4 separate regions of the Homo sapiens genome follow, and regions 1, 2 and 3 are each linked to region 4. The links are contacts of gene promoters, found by promoter capture Hi-C in blood cells and fetal thymus (Javierre and others, 2016). All regions are on one chromosome and are shown on one strand. Each heading gives the region's core, a stretch centred on a gene start or on the middle of the fragment in contact. The rest is flanking DNA. Distances are from core to core; before and after follow the strand shown. Region 1 overlaps CDK7 (cyclin dependent kinase 7). Region 2 overlaps CCDC125 (coiled-coil domain containing 125). Region 3 overlaps CDK7 (cyclin dependent kinase 7). Region 4 holds the start of CCNB1 (cyclin B1).

Region 1 (4,925 bases), core at 1,989-4,488, 91 kb after region 4:
AGTACTGTCCAAAAAAGGACAAATGTCAAATTTAATCAAATGATTTAAGCTTTATAGGGAATTACCAACAGTTTAAATGCTTTTTAAATTTTTAAAAATTGCCTCAGTTGCTATGATACTGTCAGGTATTAAATAGTGAATCACATTTTAATTTTTTAACTTTGCAGCTCCTTGATGCTTTTGGACATAAATCTAATATTAGCCTTGTCTTTGATTTTATGGAAACTGATCTAGAGGTAAGATTAAGATTCCTGGAGAAATTCCTTTGTCCCAGTTTATCAAACAAGAACCTAAATATTTGTTTTCTACCCAAGAAGATACTGGTAGTAAAAGAAAAAAAGCTTAATTTTGTTGAAATTTGGATGTACTCTGAGGCAAAAGGATCTCTAGTTATTTTCTTCTAATCATTTAGTGATATCCCCAGTGTTACATACAAAGATTTGGATTTCATTGGCATTTCTGCCTTCTAAGTTCCCATAGCTAGTTGACGTCATTTTTGGAGAAATGAGCATTAGACCTATAAGATTTGTTTGCTTTTTTTTTTTTTTGTGATGGAGTCTCAGTCTGTTCACCCAGCCTGGAGTGCAATGGCGTGATCTCGGCTCTCTGCAGCCATCACCTCCTGGGTTCCAGTGATTCTCTCACTTCAGCCTCCCAAGTAGCTGGGATTACAGGTGCCACCACGCCCGGCTAAATTTTATATTTTAAGTAGAGACGGGGTGTCACCATGTTGGCCAGGCTGGTCTTGAACTCCTGACCTCAAGTGATCTGCCTGCCTCAGCCTCCCAAAGTGCTAGGATTACAGGCATGAGTCACCATGCCTAGCAACCTATAAGAATTTAAAATTTATTTCTGGCCAGTGCAGTGACTCACGCCTGTAATCTCAGCACTTTGAGAGGCCAAGGCAAGAGGATTGCTTAAGCCCAGGAGTTCAAGACCAGCCTGGACCCCATAGATCCTGTCTCAGCTTTACAAATTATATTAAAAAATAAAGAAACTTATTTCCATATAATCAGAGTAATGTCATTCTTTTGAAAGCCAAGTTTTTTTGTTTGTTTTTGTTTTTGTTTTGTTTTTTTGAGACAGAGTCTTGCTTTGTTACCCGTGCTGGAGTACAGTGGCGCGATCTCAACTCACTGCAACCTCTGCCTCCCAGGTTCAAGCAATTCTTGTGCCTCAGCCTCCTGAGTAGCTGGGATTACAAGCGCCCATCACCATGCCCAGCTAAAATAGAGATGGGGTTTCACTATGTTGGACGGGATGGTTTCAAACTCTTGACCTCTGGCGATCTACCTGCCTGAGCCTCCCAAAGTGCTGGGATTATAAGCGTGAGCCACCATGCCCGGCCTCTTTCTTTTAGATAAATACCTAGCAGTGGTATTGCTAGATCACAAGATTATTGATTAGTGGTATCGATCACAATATTAGTGATGCTGTTATAGATCACAATACTAATGGTATTGATCCTGGAAGGACCTATCATAATAGGCTATGGACTCACCACTAGGCTATGGATTGCACCATTGCACTCCATCCTGGGTGACAGAGTGAGATTCCCATCTCGAAAAAAGAAAAAAAAAAGAAACAAAAACGTATGCCAGAATTCAGTTGGTACAGATGTTTGGCTTTATTAATAATTATCAAAACTGGAACAATCCAAACATCCCTCATTCTAACTGTACAAACAAACTGAAATACTACTCAGGAATAGAAACACACTATTGATAAATGCAGCAACATAGATGAATCTGAAATGCATTATACTAAGTGAAAGAAGCCAGGCTAAAAAGACTATGTATTGAACCATTTCATTTATATGATATTCTGGAAAAGGCAAAATGAAAGGAACCAGAAACCAGATCAGCGGTTATGGGGGCTTTGGGGTAAAGGAAAGGAGTAAGTACAGAGGGGCCTCAGGGAATTTGGGGAGGTTACGGAACTATGCTTTGATTATAGTGGTGGTTACATGACTGGATGCATTTGTCAAAACTCATGGAACTATACACTAAAAAGGGTATGCTTTACCTTAAATCTGATTTTAAAAAAAGAAAAGGGGAACTTTTAGTTCCTAACTGATAAATCTAGAATAAACTGACATTAGGCACAGCTCATAAATAATGCCATCAAAACTCAGTCTTACGCTTTAACTAAGCTCCATTTTCTTCTCTGTTGCATTCTTCATGTGTACAGTTCTCAATATGGTGTTCCAGATGCTTCTAGGTATATGTTTGTAGAGTTTAATAATACCTGAGGAACGAAAGTGCTTTCTTTTCTTTGATTCTAGCACAAGTACTTGGCCTGGTTGATTGACTTGTCTTGTATCCCTGAACCAATCACTTGGCCAGGAGACTGCAGTGTGATAATGGGGATGCCTGGGTCATGTGCCTACCTCTGGAGGCCTTAGGTTGACTCAGTCCTACCTTAACCATGTGGACTAAGCTGAGAAGAGATGGCTTCCCAAAGGAACACTAACTGCTATTGTCAGAAGATGCAAGCAGAAACAACAGGTGTTTGCTACTTTCATGCGAAAGCAGTAGAGGACAAAGCACTGCTTTCTTTTCAAACCAGAAATGCTCTCCCTACCCATCTAACTCTGGAGATTTTGACAGGGCTTCCTGAGGAAACTTAGATAACCTCTTTTGAGAGTCTCCTGTATTGATACTTACATTTTAAGTCTGTAAATTGTTTTATGTGGTAGAGTTTATTTGAAATAATAAAGGGTACCTGTATATTGTATACTTGCTTTACAGGTTATAATAAAGGATAATAGTCTTGTGCTGACACCATCACACATCAAAGCCTACATGTTGATGACTCTTCAAGGATTAGAATATTTACATCAACATTGGATCCTACATAGGGTAAGGTTTTTAATATTGCTTCTTTATACTAGTCAAGTTTTATATAGCCAATTTGGTACATAGTGGTCTGAATATGTAAATTGTTTAACAATGAATTTATAGCTGACTGTTTTATCCCATCTTTTTGCTATATATTATTCCCTTCACTTGTTCCAGCAGTTGGTGCTGTAAGGACTCCATATTACTTTGTGAAATTTAGAACTGGAAGAGATCCAGTCCCTCATTTTTTTTTTTTTTTTTTTTTGAGATGGAATCTTGCTCTGTCACCCAGGCTGGAGTGCAGTGGCGCGATCTCTTGCTCACTGCAAGCTCCGTCTCCTGGTTTCATGCCATTCTCCTGCCTCAGCCTCCCGAGTAGCTGGGACCACAGGTGCCCGCCACCACGCCCAGCTAATTTTTTGTATTTTTTTAGTAGAGACGGGGTTTCACCGTGTTAGCCAGAATGGTCTCGATCTCCTGGCCTCGTGATCTGCCCATCTTGGCCTCCCAAAGTGCTGGGATTACAGGCGTGAGCCATTGCGCCCGGCCTCCTCATTTTTTAATAGATGAAGAGCTAAGTTGCTAAGTGACCTGACCATGGTTATATTTTTTTTCAAGGTTGGCTGCTGATAATGGACAGAGTATTAAAACATAGGTTTTGACCCAGGCATGGTGGCTCACTTTTGTGTTGCCAGCACTTTGGGAGGCTGAGGCAAGTAGATATCTCGAGCCCAGGAGTTCTAGACCAGCCTGGGCAATATAGTGAAAACTCATCTCTACAAAAAATACAGAAATTAGCTGGGTGCAGTGGTGCACACCTGTAGTCCCAGCTGCTCAGGAGGCTGAGGTTGGGGGATCACCTGAGCCCAGGAGGTGGGGGTTGCAGTGAGCTGAGACCTCACCACTGCACTCTAGTCTGGGTGACAGAGTGAAACCCTGTCTCAAAAAAAAAAAAAAGAACATAGGTCTTTTGGCTTTAAGTTCAGTATTCTTTGTGCTACAATGTTGTTGTGGGGAAAAAAATATAGAGATGGTCTTGGATTAACTCATACAATGCCAAAATACTAGAAAAGTAATGTTTCTTGTAGCTCTAAAATTCAAGGTACAAAATACAGTTTATGAAATAGTGGGAACATTCAGCTTTTAGAACAAAGCTGATAATTTAGCTAGGTAGATGCTAGCTACCTAGCTATTTAGATAAGTAGCTAAGAATATATAATTTATAACTAGTAATTCTCATATCGTAAGTTTGGAATCCCTCTTAGGTTATTGCTGATGTCTTTTTAGCATGGATTTTGAAGAATGTCATCCTCATTCTTATACATTAACAACGTATATTATGAAAGTTCATATTTATTATTAATAGTAGGAACCATTTATTGAGTGCCTACTATGAGCCAGTTATTACACTAGACTACAGAAAATATCAGATTTAATCCTCACAGAAACTCTATGAAGTATGTAAATTATGGCTTAGTGAAATTAAGTTCCTTACCAAGGTTATATATTATAACCAATCCAATTTTGCTTTGATGGGATTTTATATCAGTGGGAAAAAAATTGATTGTTTAGATTTCAGGTGTTACCTTGTTTTTGCTAAGTTTAAAGTTATGCCAACTAAATGTAGCACTACAGTGTTCTCCCCTACCCTGCTTATTTGTTTGTTTAAAACTTCCGTCATATAGGATCTGAAACCAAACAACTTGTTGCTAGATGAAAATGGAGTTCTAAAACTGGCAGATTTTGGCCTGGCCAAATCTTTTGGGAGCCCCAATAGAGCTTATACACATCAGGTTGTAACCAGGTAAGAATCTCTTAAAGCTACATGTGCAGGAGTTTGATCAGAAATGAGCATCAACTGGCTTCTCTGAACTATCTTGGCAGAGTTAAGGAATCATTGTTGATAGATACCGTCTTAAAAAATACTGCCATTTGGCCAGGCGCGGTGACTCATGCCTGTAATCCCAGCACTTTGGGAGGCCAAGGCAGGCAGACCCACGAGGTCAGGAGTTTGAGACCAGCCTGGCCAACATGGTGAAACCCCGTCTCTACTAAAAATACAAAAGAATTAGCTGGGCATGGTGG
Region 2 (4,361 bases), core at 96-2,595, 120 kb after region 4:
TTAATTTCAAGAAAATATGAATGACTTTCTCAGAATAAGTGTTACAAAACATTATATTTTCCTGTTTTGTCCTGGCTTCCATCTAATGAACACTCCAAACATGTAGCTTCTATGATCTGCATTTCCCTACTCTGTAGTTCTGATTTACTGCTTCTATTTCTATCATCCCTCTGCATCACTTCTTACCCTTTTCAGCAAAGAAAAGGGGGAAAGCTTAGTTAATGAAACTAAAATTCACGACAGCTGACTCCTATACTATTAGTAATATATACTGTTTGAAAATAAATATTTCAAACAAAATGGCTATCTACTATAAAGCTTTCATTTTATTATTATTATTATTATTACTATTATTATTATTATTTTGAGACAGAGTCTTGCTCTGTCACCCAGGCTAGAGTACAGTGGCGCAATCTTGGCTCACTGCAACCTCTGCCTTCCAGGTTCAAGCGATTCTCCTGCCTCAGCTTCCCGAGTAGCTGGGATTACAGGTGAGTGCCATCACACCCAGCTAATTTTTGTATTTTTAGTAGAGATGGGGTTTCTCAATGTTGGCCAGGCTGGTCTTGAACTCCTGACCTCAGGTGATCTGCCTGCCTCAGCCTGCCAAAGTGCTGGGATTACAGGCCTGAGCCACCGCACATGGCCAGGTTTCTTTTTTTTTTCTTTTTTTTCTTTTTTTTTTTTTTTTGTTTGAGACAGTCTTGCTCTTTCCCCCAGGCTGGAGTGCAGTAGTGCAATCTTGGCTCACTGCAACCTCCACTTCCCAGGTTCAAGCAATTCTCCTGCCTCAGCCTCCCAAGTAGCTGGGACTACAGGCGCCTGCGACCAAGCCCGGCTAATTTTTGTATTTTTAGTAGAGGCAGGGTTTCACCATGTTGGCCAGGCTGGTCTCAAACTCCTGACCTCAAATGATCCACCCACCTCGGCCTCCCAAAGTGCTGGGATTACAGGCATGAGCCACGACGCCCAGCCAACAGGTTCCATTTTAAATATTTTCTATGATGGTGTTCCCCTAAGATCATTTTAAATATTACAAGATGTGTATTAGTCTTTCTAAATTCACCTGAATATAAGAGATGTTAGAATTATAGATCTGACAGATAAGAAAATATTTAGAAATACAGTCATCCTAGAATTTTTCTACAAAACATTTAAAATTCTTATAAACTTCACTTGATTCTTTCTCAACTGATAAATGGTTTCAAATTATAATTTGACATTTTAAACTGAAGCAATATGAATTCTACAGAATAATACTGATGAATAAAAATTGGTATGAACTACTTAGAGAAACAGATTTCTAAAAAATAACAGCTACTTTGTTCATACTGGAAGATCTACTTCAATTCTCTCATGCTATTTTAATATATTTTTTAATACACAGATATAATAATACTCAATACTGATCATTTTTTTTTTTTTGAGATGGAGTCTCATTCCGTCGCCCAGTGCAGTGGCGCGATCTCAGCTCACTGCAACCTCTGCCTCCTGGGTTCAAGCGATTCTTCTGCCTCAGCCTCCTGAGCAGGTGGTATTACAGGCATGTGCTACCACGCCCGGCTAATTTTTGTGTTTTTAGTAGAGATGGGGTTTTGCCATGTTGGCCAGGCTGTTCTCGAACTCCTGACCTCAGGTGATCCACCCTCCTTGGCCTCTCAAAGTGCTAGGATTACAGGCGTGAGCCACCACACCCAGCCTGGCCATAAATTTTTGATGGGTTCGTGAACCAAAACCTAAACCTAAACTTCTGCTTCATTTTTTCTAAGAATATTTTATTAATTTGTCCAACTTAAGGTTTTTCCTCTATTCCTCAATTTCCTTCTCAAAAGCATACATTTCAATAAAGTTTAATTAGATAGATACATTTAATGTCATGTTTAAGTGACATTTTTCACATTACTTCCTTCTTGGCAGTTTCCTTTTAATCACCTAGCACTTTTATTGTAAAGTTTTTTCACTAAACATGGTCTTATTTAAATGAAACAGAAGAGTACTAGAAAATAAATATTCCTGTTATGTTATGGTTTATGGATTCCAGTAGTTCACCTGCACATGTAATATCCAATGACTCCTTTTTTTCCATAGTTGCTAAGTTTTTAAGTAAACCACAACCATATGTGAAGTTTCAATTATTTTTGCCCACATTGGATTAAGTGTGCTTCATCAACTTGGATTATAAACAAAACAACTAAAATTACACCCACTTATTGCCATTATAATTCATAGTTACCATCCTCTTTAAGGTGCTTCCAATTCATCCATTTTGTTGCTTTTTTATGCATTTTATCCATTTGTGTCAATTGTAGTGCCTGGTCATTTTTTCTCATTAATTGTTGCTCAAATGCAATTCTGAAAGCATCTGCCATCACGTAAGCTTCTTCTTTACTCTTCTGCAAAATTTCCAACTGATTTTGAAAGACAGTTTGGGAGGTGTCAGAGGCAAAACCAGAACAATTCTTGCTGAATGGGGAATCAAATTAACATATGCAATCTCACTGCCTAGCACTGGTTTATTGCCTGTGGTCTGATCTAGTTTATCTGATTACGCTAATTAATGCTTGCTATTTCTGCAGTAGCAACTTACTCTGATCCAGATTATCAGTTTCCCTTGTGGTGCCTGTCAACTGCCTGCTAACCTAACCCCTGGACCTCACTACCCCATGCAGGCCCTGTGTGTGTGTCCTGCTCAAGTCCTGGGACAAAGGGCCCAGCATGAAAGATAAGAGGATACCAAAGGCTGCATTTCAACTCAGCTTTGGGCCATTCCAGACCACACCACTGAAAATAATGATGAATACGACCTTTCAAATACGTCTTATAGATGACCTTGACTTTGATCAATGTAATCTCATGTTTTTCTTTTCTTCTATTTTTTTCTTCTTCTTCTTTTTTTTTTTTCTTTTGATGGAGTCTCGCTCTGTCGCCCAGGCTGGAGTGCAGTGTCGTGATCTCGGCTCACTGCAAGCTCCGCCTCCTGGGTTCAAGCAATTCTCCTGCCTCTGCCTCTCGAGTAGCTGGGACTATAGGCGCATGTTGCCACGCCTGGCTAATTTTTTGTATTTTAGTAGAGATGGGGTTTCACTGTGTTGCCCAGGCTGGTCTCGAACTCCTGAGCTCAGGTAATCCACCCGCCTCGGCCTCCCAAAGTGCTGGTTTACAGGCATGAGCCACTGCGCCCGGTCTTTCTTTTTGTTTTGGAGACAGGGTCTCTCACTCTGTCACCCAGGCTAGAGTGCAGTGATGTGAACACGGCTCACTGTAACTGTGACGTCTTAGGCTCAAGTGATTCTCCCACCTCAGCCTCCCAAAGTGCTGAGATTACAGGTGTAACCCATTGCCCCCTCATGCTTTTCTTAATGAATGGCTACTGTCCAAATGTTGGCTTTCCTATATACTTTAAAGATTTTATTTTGGCTGGGCTCAGTGGCTCACGCCTGTAATCCCAGCACTTTGGGGGGCCAAGGCGGGTGGATCACGAGGTCAGGAGTTCAAGACCAGCCTGGCCAACATAGTGAAACCCCGTCTCTACTAAAAATACAAAAATTAACTGGGAGTGGTGGCAGGCGCCTGTAATCCCAGCTACTCAGGAGCCTGAGGCAGAGAATCACTTGAACCAGGAGGTGGAGGTTGCAGTGAGCCGAGATTGCACCACTACATTCCAGCCTGGGCGACAGAGCAAGAATCCGTCTCAAAAAAAAAAAAAAACCCAAACACTTTAATTTTTTTAAATTTAATTTTGTCCTATTTTATTCTATTTTAAGTTCTAGGATACAGGTGCAGGATGCAGGTTTGTTACCTAGGTAAATGTGTGCCATGGTGGTTTGCCACACCTAAGGACTTTAAATTCCATACCTTCAATAAAGGTAAAACATTTTAGAATTATGGTCCATGTACTACTGTATTTGTAAGTAAAGACCAAATATAATGGCAGCTATCATTTGAATTAATGTCTGGCATGTTCATGGTGCTGTGCTAAACATTTTATGTCTATTTCCTCACAACAATCATCCAAGGTAGTTATTACCCTCCACTTAATATAGTAGGAAAACTAAGACCTACCCCGTCCAAAGCCACACAGCTAGTAAATGGTGGAGCAAAGATGCAAACCTAGGTCTGGCTGGGACAAAGGTTCCTTTCACTGTGCCTTGCTGCTGTTCAAATACATTCCATGCTTATCTCTCCATTAATCAGTGTTGCTGATCCTAGTGATTTTAAGCATAAATGTACATTTTCCTTCTATTATATAGTAATTTTAGGGACATGTATAGATGAGAACATATAAATTTTAGGAATATTAATTATGAACTTAGGCAAATGACTTTAGGTAGCTTCAAATATCATGCCAAGTACTTTTTTTT
Region 3 (4,713 bases), core at 512-3,011, 110 kb after region 4:
ATATAAACCATCATATCACCTGAAAATGATTTATTTCATTTGCAATCTATATGCCTTTAATCCTTAAGTTTGAATTACAAAATTATTTTTACAGGACATGTGTAGTCTTCCAGATTATGTGACATTTAAGAGTTTCCCTGGAATACCTTTGCATCACATCTTCAGTGCAGCAGGAGACGACTTACTAGATCTCATACAAGGCTTATTCTTATTTAATCCATGTGCTCGAATTACGGCCACACAGGTATTTTGGTGTATCTTTTTTATACTAGGAAATATAAAAATAATCTTAACTGTAGCATTGATAAAAATAGAATTTCATAAAATTAACATTTTTTAAATACTGGAAAGATGTGTTTTTGTTTTAAGAAATAACAAACTTTGTATCTTTTCCCCAAACTACAAACACTATTAAGACTGAGATTAAATTATATGCACACAGAGATACAGGAGAGTTTACACTTATTACACTTGCTTAGGGACATTTAAATACATGTCTATTTCACATAATTGGCTTGTAAATACTTTACTTAGAAAAAGAAAACCAAGGCTTTTTATTTGTTAAGAAACTGGTATATTTCAGTTGAGCTCTTACAAATTCATTTAAATCTTGTAGCAATGCTGAAAGTAGTTTGTTCGGCTTATTTTTTCTTTCCTATATAATGCAATCCAGGTATGCATGCTGATCATTCTCACATTGAGAACATGGTAATGGGGAGGAAATGGTATAGTCAGATATAATTGTATGCTTACAAAAGCTTGAAAAATATTTGAAATAAAACAAAAACTGAAACTAACTGCTGTTTAAAGGAAATAACAAACTCATGAAAAATTTGGAAGACCTAGAATAACTTAGGGCAGAGCACTGTACAACACAGTGCAGTGATTTTACCTCATGAAGGGAGAGACTAATGAAAGTGAGATCACAGGTCTTTATGGAAACATATTAATGTACAGTAATATTAAGCATACAAAATAGATTTTTTTCTCTTTAGGTTTGTTCCAGGCTACAAAATCATTGTTTAATGCACTTGCTTGTATAAGCCTTCTCTTTTTAGCAATGTGTGCTATGTGAATATATATGGAGATGGATGGATGGATGGAAGGATAGATAGATATAGATGGATAGGTAGGTAGGTATATGCTGGGTATTTACCATTAGAATTATTCTCCTAATTTCTTTTTTAAAAAATTTTTCTTTATTATTTTTATGTCCATGTGTACACATACTCTTTTAATTTCAAACAAGTAATTTGTTGCCTTTTCACTCATACTTCTATGTATATTATTTCCATCATAATAAACTTGAGACCACATTTAATTATCTAGAAAGTTGTTTTCATTGGTAGTATAGTTTGAAACTTAACAGAAAAATACTAGTTGTTGTATTTGGGTTGTATTTTAATAGAATGAAGTTTTTAAAGTGAGTTTTGTTTCATGGATGTCTTTATTAAAGTTGGAATGAGGTATTTTCTTAGATCTTTAGCCCAGAATTAGCCTAATTTGCATATAGAACTGCTGTGATTTAGAAGTAATGCTTTAAAAATGCAGCTGTAGGCCGGTGCATCGGCTCACACCTGTAATCCCAGCACTTTGGGAGGTGAAGGAGCAAGGATAGCTTGAGCCCAGGAGTTGGAGCCCAGCCTGGGCAACATGACAAAACATCATCTCTACAAAAAGTAAATAAATAAAAAATGAAAATGCAACTGTTGAAGTAAGGAATCTCTAAATTACTGCAAATAATATTGGGAGTGGTGAGGAATGCTTGCAAAGTTTATATGGGCTTCATCTTTCTTAAAGGATTATCCTAAAGGAAGTATTTATTTATTTATTTTTGAGACGAAGTCTTGCTCTGTCACCCAGGCTGGAGTGCAGTGGCACGATCTTGACTCACTGCAACCTCTACCTCCCAGGTACAAGCGATTCTCCTGTCTCAGCCTCCCTAGTAGCTGGGATTACAGGTGCACACCACCATGCCTGGCTAATTTTTGGATTTTTAGTAGAGACAGGGTTTCACCATGTTATCGAGGCTGATCTCGAACTCCTGACCTCAGGTGATCCATCTGCCTCGGCCTCCCAAAGTGCTGGGATTACAGGCATGAGCCACCCCGCCCTGCCAGAAGTATTTTAAATCATTGTAGCCACTGGACAGCACTATGCTGCTGATGTAAATAGACAAGCATGTGAACCCGGGAGGTGGAGGTTGCAGTGAGCCAAGATTGTGCCACTGCACTCCAGCCTGGGCAACAGGGTGAGACTCTGTATCCAAAAAAAAAAAAAAAGACAAGCATGACCTGACAAACTTGTCATTTAGGATATAATTATTTTTATCAGAATTGTGGACCCAAGTCAAGAAAATGTATTGTATCTACAGCACTATAGTAGGGGGAAAAAAAGAGAAAATGTATTATAGAACATTGGCCTGGTAATTAATAGAAATAATCTTGGAGAAGCCCTTCCAAGTAAAATTTCTGTCCATTTGCAATGGATTGTTGAATTAGAATCCATTGGTTCCAACCTACTGTATTTTTTAAAAAGCCTTATTTTTTAAGAATTTATATTTTACATGACTTGGAATTTGAATATATATGGATAGTGTGGCCAACTTGTAAGTTCTTTTTAAGTTTCTCTCTTTGCATTTTGAACTGTAGAGTTCAATATGTAGAGAATGGAAATGTACAATATTTCACTAAGGATAGCTCATAATTAGTATAGGTTGAGCATCCTTAATCCAAATATCCGAAATCTGAAATGCTCCAAAATCCAAAGCTTTTTGAATGATGACGTGATGCCACAAGTGGAAAATTCTACACATAAGGACATTAACAAAACTTTGTTTTATGTACAAAATTAAAAATTTTGTCAAATTAAAAATATTTTATAAAATTACCTTCAGCCAGGCGCGGTGGCTCACGCCTGTAATCCTAGCTCTTAGGGAGGCGGAGGCGGGAGGATAGCTTGAGCCCAGGAGTTCAAGACAAGCCTGGCCAATATAGCAAGACCCCATTCTCCACAAAAAATAAGTGTAAAATTACCTTCAGTTTATATGTATAAGCTGTATATGAAACATAAGTTTCATTTTTAATCTTGGCTTCCATCCCCAAGGTACGTCATGTATATGCAAATATTCCACAGTCCAAAATCTGAAGCACTTCTGGTCCCAAGCATTTTAGATAAGATATATTCAGCCTGTATAGGCTATTTAATTATGGAAAAATTAGAAGGGAGTCTTTTTTTCTTTTCTTTTTTTGATACGGAGCCTTGCTCTGTCGCCCAGGCTGGAGTGCAGTGGTGCGATCTCGGCTCACTGCAACCTCTGCCTCTGGGTTCAAGCGATTCTCCTACCTCAGCCTCCCGAGTAGTGGGGACTACAGACATGCACCACCACGCCCAGCTTATTTTTGTATTTTTAGTAGAGATGGAGTTTCGCCACGTTGGCCAAGCTGATCTCGAACTTCTGACCTCATGTGATCCACCCGCCTCAGCCTCCCAAGGTGCTGGGATTACAGGCATGAGCTACTGTGCCCGGCCAGTCTTTTAATGGAATTATCAGCCAATCTTAGGATCCTAGGTATTTATTTGTAGTAATTTCCATTTGCAAATACTTGACATTAATTTTGTTTTGTTGGGAATGAGGGCATTCACATAGTATTTTTAATGCTCCCTATAATCTTGAAGGTAAGATTTTCCTTAACACATTTCAGATACTCACCTACCTTACTTTTGGTATCTTTTCTTTTAAAAGGCACTGAAAATGAAGTATTTCAGTAATCGGCCAGGGCCAACACCTGGATGTCAGCTGCCAAGACCAAACTGTCCAGTGGAAACCTTAAAGGAGCAATCAAATCCAGCTTTGGCAATAAAAAGGAAAAGAACAGAGGCCTTAGAACAAGGTAAGATTCCCACTTTTAAAAGAAATTAAATGAATTTAGAAAACTCCAAATAGCTCGTGTATGGCTAGCGACTGAACAACAGCAAAGAAATGTAGCTTGCTAGCTATTTAATTTTTATAAATTTAATTGTATAAAGTAGAGAGACTGTGCCGTTTTAGGTATGTTTACTTTCATTGTGAATACTTCGGCAGCTTTTGTGTATACCTCAGAATTATGGGAACTATGTATGTGTACCTTGTTCCCTTCATAAATTCCTTCTGTAAACTACATGCTAAATGTTTAACAAGTGCTACTGGAAAAAATGTGTCAGTGAAATAATGTAGTTGGAATGCAGTGACTGGTTAAAATTGCTATGAGAATGTGAACTTTGTTAAATGTGAACAACTTTTTTTTTTCTTGTTCTTTTTGCTTCCTAGGAGGATTGCCCAAGAAACTAATTTTTTAAAGAGAACACTGGACAACATTTTACTACTGAGGGAAATAGCCAAAAAGGCAAATAATGGAAAAATAGTAAACATTAAGTAAATGCTGTAGAAGTGAGTTTGTAAATATTCTACACATGTAAAATATGTAAAACTATGGGTTATTTTTATTAAATGTATTTTAAAATAAAAATTTAATTCTGGTTTTTCTGATTAGAGTGCAAAAGTGAGAAAAGTTCAATACTCTTGAAATGTAGAATTGAAAATGCATTAGGGAAAACTTAATAAAAATTATTACCAGTTATTTGGAAGATCTGACCCATATAGTATCACAAATCTGTAGTAGCATGGGTAGTGTTTAAAAATAAAAATGTTGGCCGGGCGCGGTGGCTCACGCC
Region 4 (4,688 bases), core at 1,791-4,290:
GATCCCATCTCTACAAAAAATAAAAAATAAAAAAATTAGCTGGGCACAGTGGCTCACACCTACAGTCCTAGCTACTTGGGAAGCTGAGGCAGAATTGCCCGAGCTCAGGAGTTTGAGGTTACAGTGAGCTATGATCACACCAGTGCACTCCAGCCTGGGTAACATAGTAAGACCCTATCTCAAAAAACAAAACAAAACAAAAACTAGGCAAAATACCTGAACAGATACCTCAACAGAGAAGTTATACAGATTATAATCACAGAAAAAGATACTCAATATCATATGTCATTAGAGAACTGCAAATCAAAAAACAATGAGTTACCACTACACACCTAATAGGATGGCTACAATTTTTTTAAAAACTGACAACACCAAATGCTTGTGAGGATTGCTGATGGGAATGCAAAATGGTAGAGCAGCTTTGGAAGACAGTTTGGCGGTTTCTTACAAAAGTAAACATACTATATGATCCAACAGTCTTGCTCCTTGGTATTCACCCAAATGAGTTTAAAACTTATGTCCACTCAGCCGGGCACAGTGGCTCACGCCTGTAATCCCAGCACTTTGGGAGGCCGAGGAGGGTGGATCACGAGGTCAGGAGATCGAGACCATCCTGGCTAACATGGTGAAACCTCGTCTGTACTAAAAATACAAAAAATTAGCCAGGCCTGGTGGCGGGCGCCTATAGTCCCAGCTACTTGGGAGGCTGAGGCAGGAGAATGGCGTGAACCCGGGAGGCGGAGCTTGCAGTGAGCCTAGATGGCGCCACCGCACTCCAGCCTGGGCAACAAAGCAAGACTCCGTCTCAAAAAACAAACAAACAAACGAAAAACAAAAACAACTTACGTCCACTCAAAAATCTGCACACAGATGTTAGTAGCAGTTATATTCATACCAAAACTTGGACGCAATCAAGATGTCACTTAGTAGGTGACTGAATAAATAAACTAGTACATCCAGACAATGCAATATTATTCAGGGCTAAAATAAAATGAGATCCCAACCCATGAAAAAAACATGGAAGAACCTTAAATGCATATTTGAGTAAAAGAAACCATTCTGACCGCCAGGTGCAGTGGCTCACGCCTTCAATACCAGCACTTTGGGAGGTTGAGGCGGGTGGACATTATACGTCATTATATATTTGTCAAAACCCGTAGAAGACACAACACCTAGAGTGAACCTTAATGTAAACTATGGACTTTGGGTAATACTGTGGTGTCAATGTAGGTTAACAGATTATAATTAAAGTACAACTTTAATGTGGGGTGTCAATAGTGGGGAAGGCAGGTGAAATGCTCTATACTTTCTGCTAAGTTTTGCTGCGAACCTAAAACTGCTCTAAAAAATAAAGCATATAAAAGGAAAAATTTGGCCGGGCGTGGTGGCTCACGCCTGTAATCGCAGCACTTTGGGAGGCCGAGGCGGGCGGATCACCAAGTCAGGAGATCGAGACCATCCTGGCTAACATGGTGAAACCCCGTCTCTACCAAAAATACAAAAAATTAGCCGGCCGTTGTGGCGGGCGCCTGCCGTCCCAGCTACTCGGGAGGCTGAGGCAGGAGAATGGAGTGAACCCTGGAGGTGGAGGTTGCAGTGAGTCGAGATCGCACCACTGCACTCCAGCCTGGGCGACAGATCGAGACTCCGTCTCAAAAAAAAGTAAAAAAAAAAATTTTTAAACTGGAACACAGAGGATAAGTAATCCTGCTTCGCCCCTTGCCTCTCGCCCCTGCATGGGGCGAGGAAGGATTGATCAAACCCAGAAAGACTGAGTGAGAATGGATGTTGAACACAGAACTGAAGGATGAATGGGAGTTACCTGAATAGAACCCAGGGGCTTGAATGCAAGAAGAGGCGGGCATTCCAGGCAGAGGAGAGCAAGGGTAAGGGCCCCACGGGAGGCATTCGAGTAGGAGGGTGAACTATGATGACAGAAGACTCAATAACGATCCAAAGAAACCAAATGATTGGGCGCCTTCTTTCGGATCCGTGACTTCCAGCGCCAGGAGTCTCTATTGGCTCTTATACCGTTGCTCTATGGGATAGCAATGTTTTTGTCCTTCAGCCTCCCCTCCAATTGCTGAGCTGCTGGTGTGTTTTGAGGAGTAGAAGGCAAAAAGAACCCTCTTGTTTTTCTTTGGATCTAGAGAGAATCTGAGCAAATGACAAAGCAAATGGGGTAAAATGTCTTTTTGTTTAGTTTTTCCTGATTTTCCCATGAGAGGCAAATACATGTTAAGGATAGTTGAATCTGAGTAAAGGGCATAGAAATATTCCTTACAAGATTTTTGTTGGCAACTGGTCTAAGTATGAAATTATTTCCAAATAGAAAGCTAAAACAAACAAAACAATTGGCCTTGGGAAACTGGACAATCTTGAAGTAATCAAGTAATATTGTTAAGGGACAATCAGTGTTGTGAAAACAACACGGATACACCCCCTCCCTCCCCCTCAAAAAAAAAAACCCTAAATTCAGTTCCCCCGTTGCTAATGTGTGACCCTGGCAAAGTCATCTAAGTCGCTGAGCTTCAGTTCCTCCAACCCAGAGAGTTGTTGCAACGATCAAATGAAAGAATGTCTATTAAAGCCTTTCATGAACTATATTATTGCTGCTACCGTAGAAATGGAAAGTGTGCAACACTAGATCCAAAACTACTTTTGACACTTCTGAGACTGTGGCCGCGCCTCTGTCACCTTCCAAAGGCCACTAGGCCTTTCCTGAGCTGGCATTGGCAACGCACACTCTTGCCCGGCTAACCTTTCCAGGTGGGCGGCGCACTGGCTTCACTGCTCTCCAGGTGGCCGCTGCAGCTGCCCGAGAGCGCAGGCGCAGAGGCAGACCACGTGAGAGCCTGGCCAGGCCTTCCGGCCTAGCCTCACTGTGGCCCCGCCCCTCTCGAACGCCTTCGCGCGATCGCCCTGGAAACGCATTCTCTGCGACCGGCAGCCGCCAATGGGAAGGGAGTGAGTGCCACGAACAGGCCAATAAGGAGGGAGCAGTGCGGGGTTTAAATCTGAGGCTAGGCTGGCTCTTCTCGGCGTGCTGCGGCGGAACGGCTGTTGGTTTCTGCTGGGTGTAGGTCCTTGGCTGGTCGGGCCTCCGGTGTTCTGCTTCTCCCCGCTGAGCTGCTGCCTGGTGAAGAGGAAGCCATGGCGCTCCGAGTCACCAGGGTGAGCCGCTTCGGACTGCGAACTAACGCGGCCTTCTTAGCTGCTGCCTGCTCTCCCTGCCTCGCCTGCGGGAGCCTCCCGAGCGGGAGAGGGCCGCAGGAGCGATTTGGGGAGGAAGGTGGGAGGGGACTCACCAAGAGAGCGCCGAGGTGGGCCCAGGCCTGGTGAGAGAGTGTGGGGGACGATGGATGGAGGGAGGAAGGTGAGAAAGAGAACTGGACGGATATTGGATAAATGTTTTGGGGAGGTGGAGAGTCGACTGGGAACCTTTTGAAAAAGTGATAGAGGGTCCCTGAGTGGGCCCGCCAGCAACTCTGTAACCCCCTTCCCAGAGAGAAGGTGTCTGCAATTGGAGGCTTTTTCGGTTTCCTTTCAAATGTAAATTCTCGGTATTTTAGGGCTGGCCAGGACTAATCAGGGAATCCCTCAATTGGTAAATGTAGAGGTCGGCGGAAACTGACTTGTCACGGCCGCAGAGTAGACTCTGGGACCCATGTTTTCCCTCGGAACCCATTTTTAGTCGGCTTTCTTTCTGGGAACTTCTCCTTGTGCCCCACCTTAATTAACCCTTGACTTACTCGAGCCTTCGTGGATCAGCTCTTAAAGTGGTCTTGCTTCTTTCAGAACTCGAAAATTAATGCTGAAAATAAGGCGAAGATCAACATGGCAGGCGCAAAGCGCGTTCCTACGGCCCCTGCTGCAACCTCCAAGCCCGGACTGAGGCCAAGAACAGCTCTTGGGGACATTGGTAACAAAGTCAGTGAACAACTGCAGGCCAAAATGCCTATGAAGAAGGTAACTCTCTTCCTGACCTAACTTCTGTAAGAGCCCGCCTTCCAACTGTGGCCTTTGATGCAGAAACATTTCATTCTCTCTGTTTCATCTACAGGAAGCAAAACCTTCAGCTACTGGAAAAGTCATTGATAAAAAACTACCAAAACCTCTTGAAAAGGTACCTATGCTGGTGCCAGTGCCAGTGTCTGAGCCAGTGCCAGAGCCAGAACCTGAGCCAGAACCTGAGCCTGTTAAAGAAGAAAAACTTTCGCCTGAGCCTATTTTGGTAAACTTATTCTTACCATTGTAGAGTCTGTTGATTATTTCTTGTCCCTTATTTCACTGATACATGCAAGAGCATTCAAATGAATAGTAATATTAATACCATTTATTGAGTGCTTAGCATGAGGCAAGCTCTGCCTAACATTTTACATGCATTAACTCACATAATCTTTACACGTACTCTCTGAGGTATTGTCACCTCTACTATTTAAATCATGGCTTTAGAGAGGTTATGTCAGGGTCACACAGGTAAGTGGCCCATATGGGATTCAAGCTCAGGCTGTCTGGCTTCAGAATCTATGCTTTTAATTGTCAACTGTCTTATATTCCTTCGTTAATGATATTAAGTAGTAGCTGTCTGAGCCAAAGGCTTTGTTATCCAACTACAAGCCATCTCTGCAGAATTTATTGGCGTAAACATAGAATGTTCTCTTGAATTTTTTTACTGCTGCATATGG

The links. Contacts are between HindIII fragments. The CHiCAGO score rates a contact against its expected background, and 5 or more counts as called.
Region 1: a contact is called between a fragment that was not itself captured here and the fragment with the promoter of CCNB1 in region 4, in 14 of 17 cell types (neutrophils, total CD8 T cells, naive CD8 T cells and 11 more). The highest score is 16.2, in neutrophils.
Region 2: a contact is called between a fragment that was not itself captured here and the fragment with the promoter of CCNB1 in region 4, in 1 of 17 cell types (neutrophils). The highest score is 9.9, in neutrophils.
Region 3: a fragment that was not itself captured here is called in contact with the fragment with the promoter of CCNB1 in region 4 in 12 of 17 cell types (non-activated CD4 T cells, monocytes, neutrophils and 9 more); the score reaches 8.1 in non-activated CD4 T cells.

What each region holds. Positions count from the first base shown.
Region 1 is chr5:69,255,293-69,260,217 of GRCh38, forward strand. CDK7 (cyclin dependent kinase 7) reads left to right here. Exons shown (of 12, transcript NM_001799.4): 5 at 168-236; 6 at 2,751-2,861; 7 at 4,526-4,644. Among named protein-coding and RNA genes, the nearest start is that of CDK7, 23 kb to the left of the region's middle. The HindIII fragment of the contact is 5,798 bases long and covers 340-4,925 here.
Region 2 is chr5:69,289,955-69,294,315 of GRCh38, forward strand. CCDC125 (coiled-coil domain containing 125) reads right to left here. Exons shown (of 12, transcript NM_176816.5): 10 at 2,234-2,408. Among named protein-coding and RNA genes, the nearest start is that of CCDC125, 41 kb to the right of the region's middle. The HindIII fragment of the contact is 2,059 bases long and covers 317-2,375 here.
Region 3 is chr5:69,272,798-69,277,510 of GRCh38, forward strand. It overlaps CDK7 (cyclin dependent kinase 7), which reads left to right. Exons shown (of 12, transcript NM_001799.4): 10 at 95-244; 11 at 3,746-3,893; 12 at 4,310-4,633. The coding sequence ends at 4,338. It also overlaps a transcript of CCDC125 not described here. Among named protein-coding and RNA genes, the nearest start is that of CDK7, 40 kb to the left of the region's middle. The HindIII fragment of the contact is 2,011 bases long and covers 757-2,767 here.
Region 4 is chr5:69,164,110-69,168,797 of GRCh38, forward strand. CCNB1 (cyclin B1) reads left to right here and starts at 3,041. Exons shown (of 9, transcript NM_031966.4): 1 at 3,041-3,174; 2 at 3,799-3,969; 3 at 4,064-4,234. The coding sequence starts at 3,154. RefSeq lists enhancers at 2,721-3,686, 3,067-3,296. The HindIII fragment of the contact is 10,262 bases long and covers 1-4,688 here.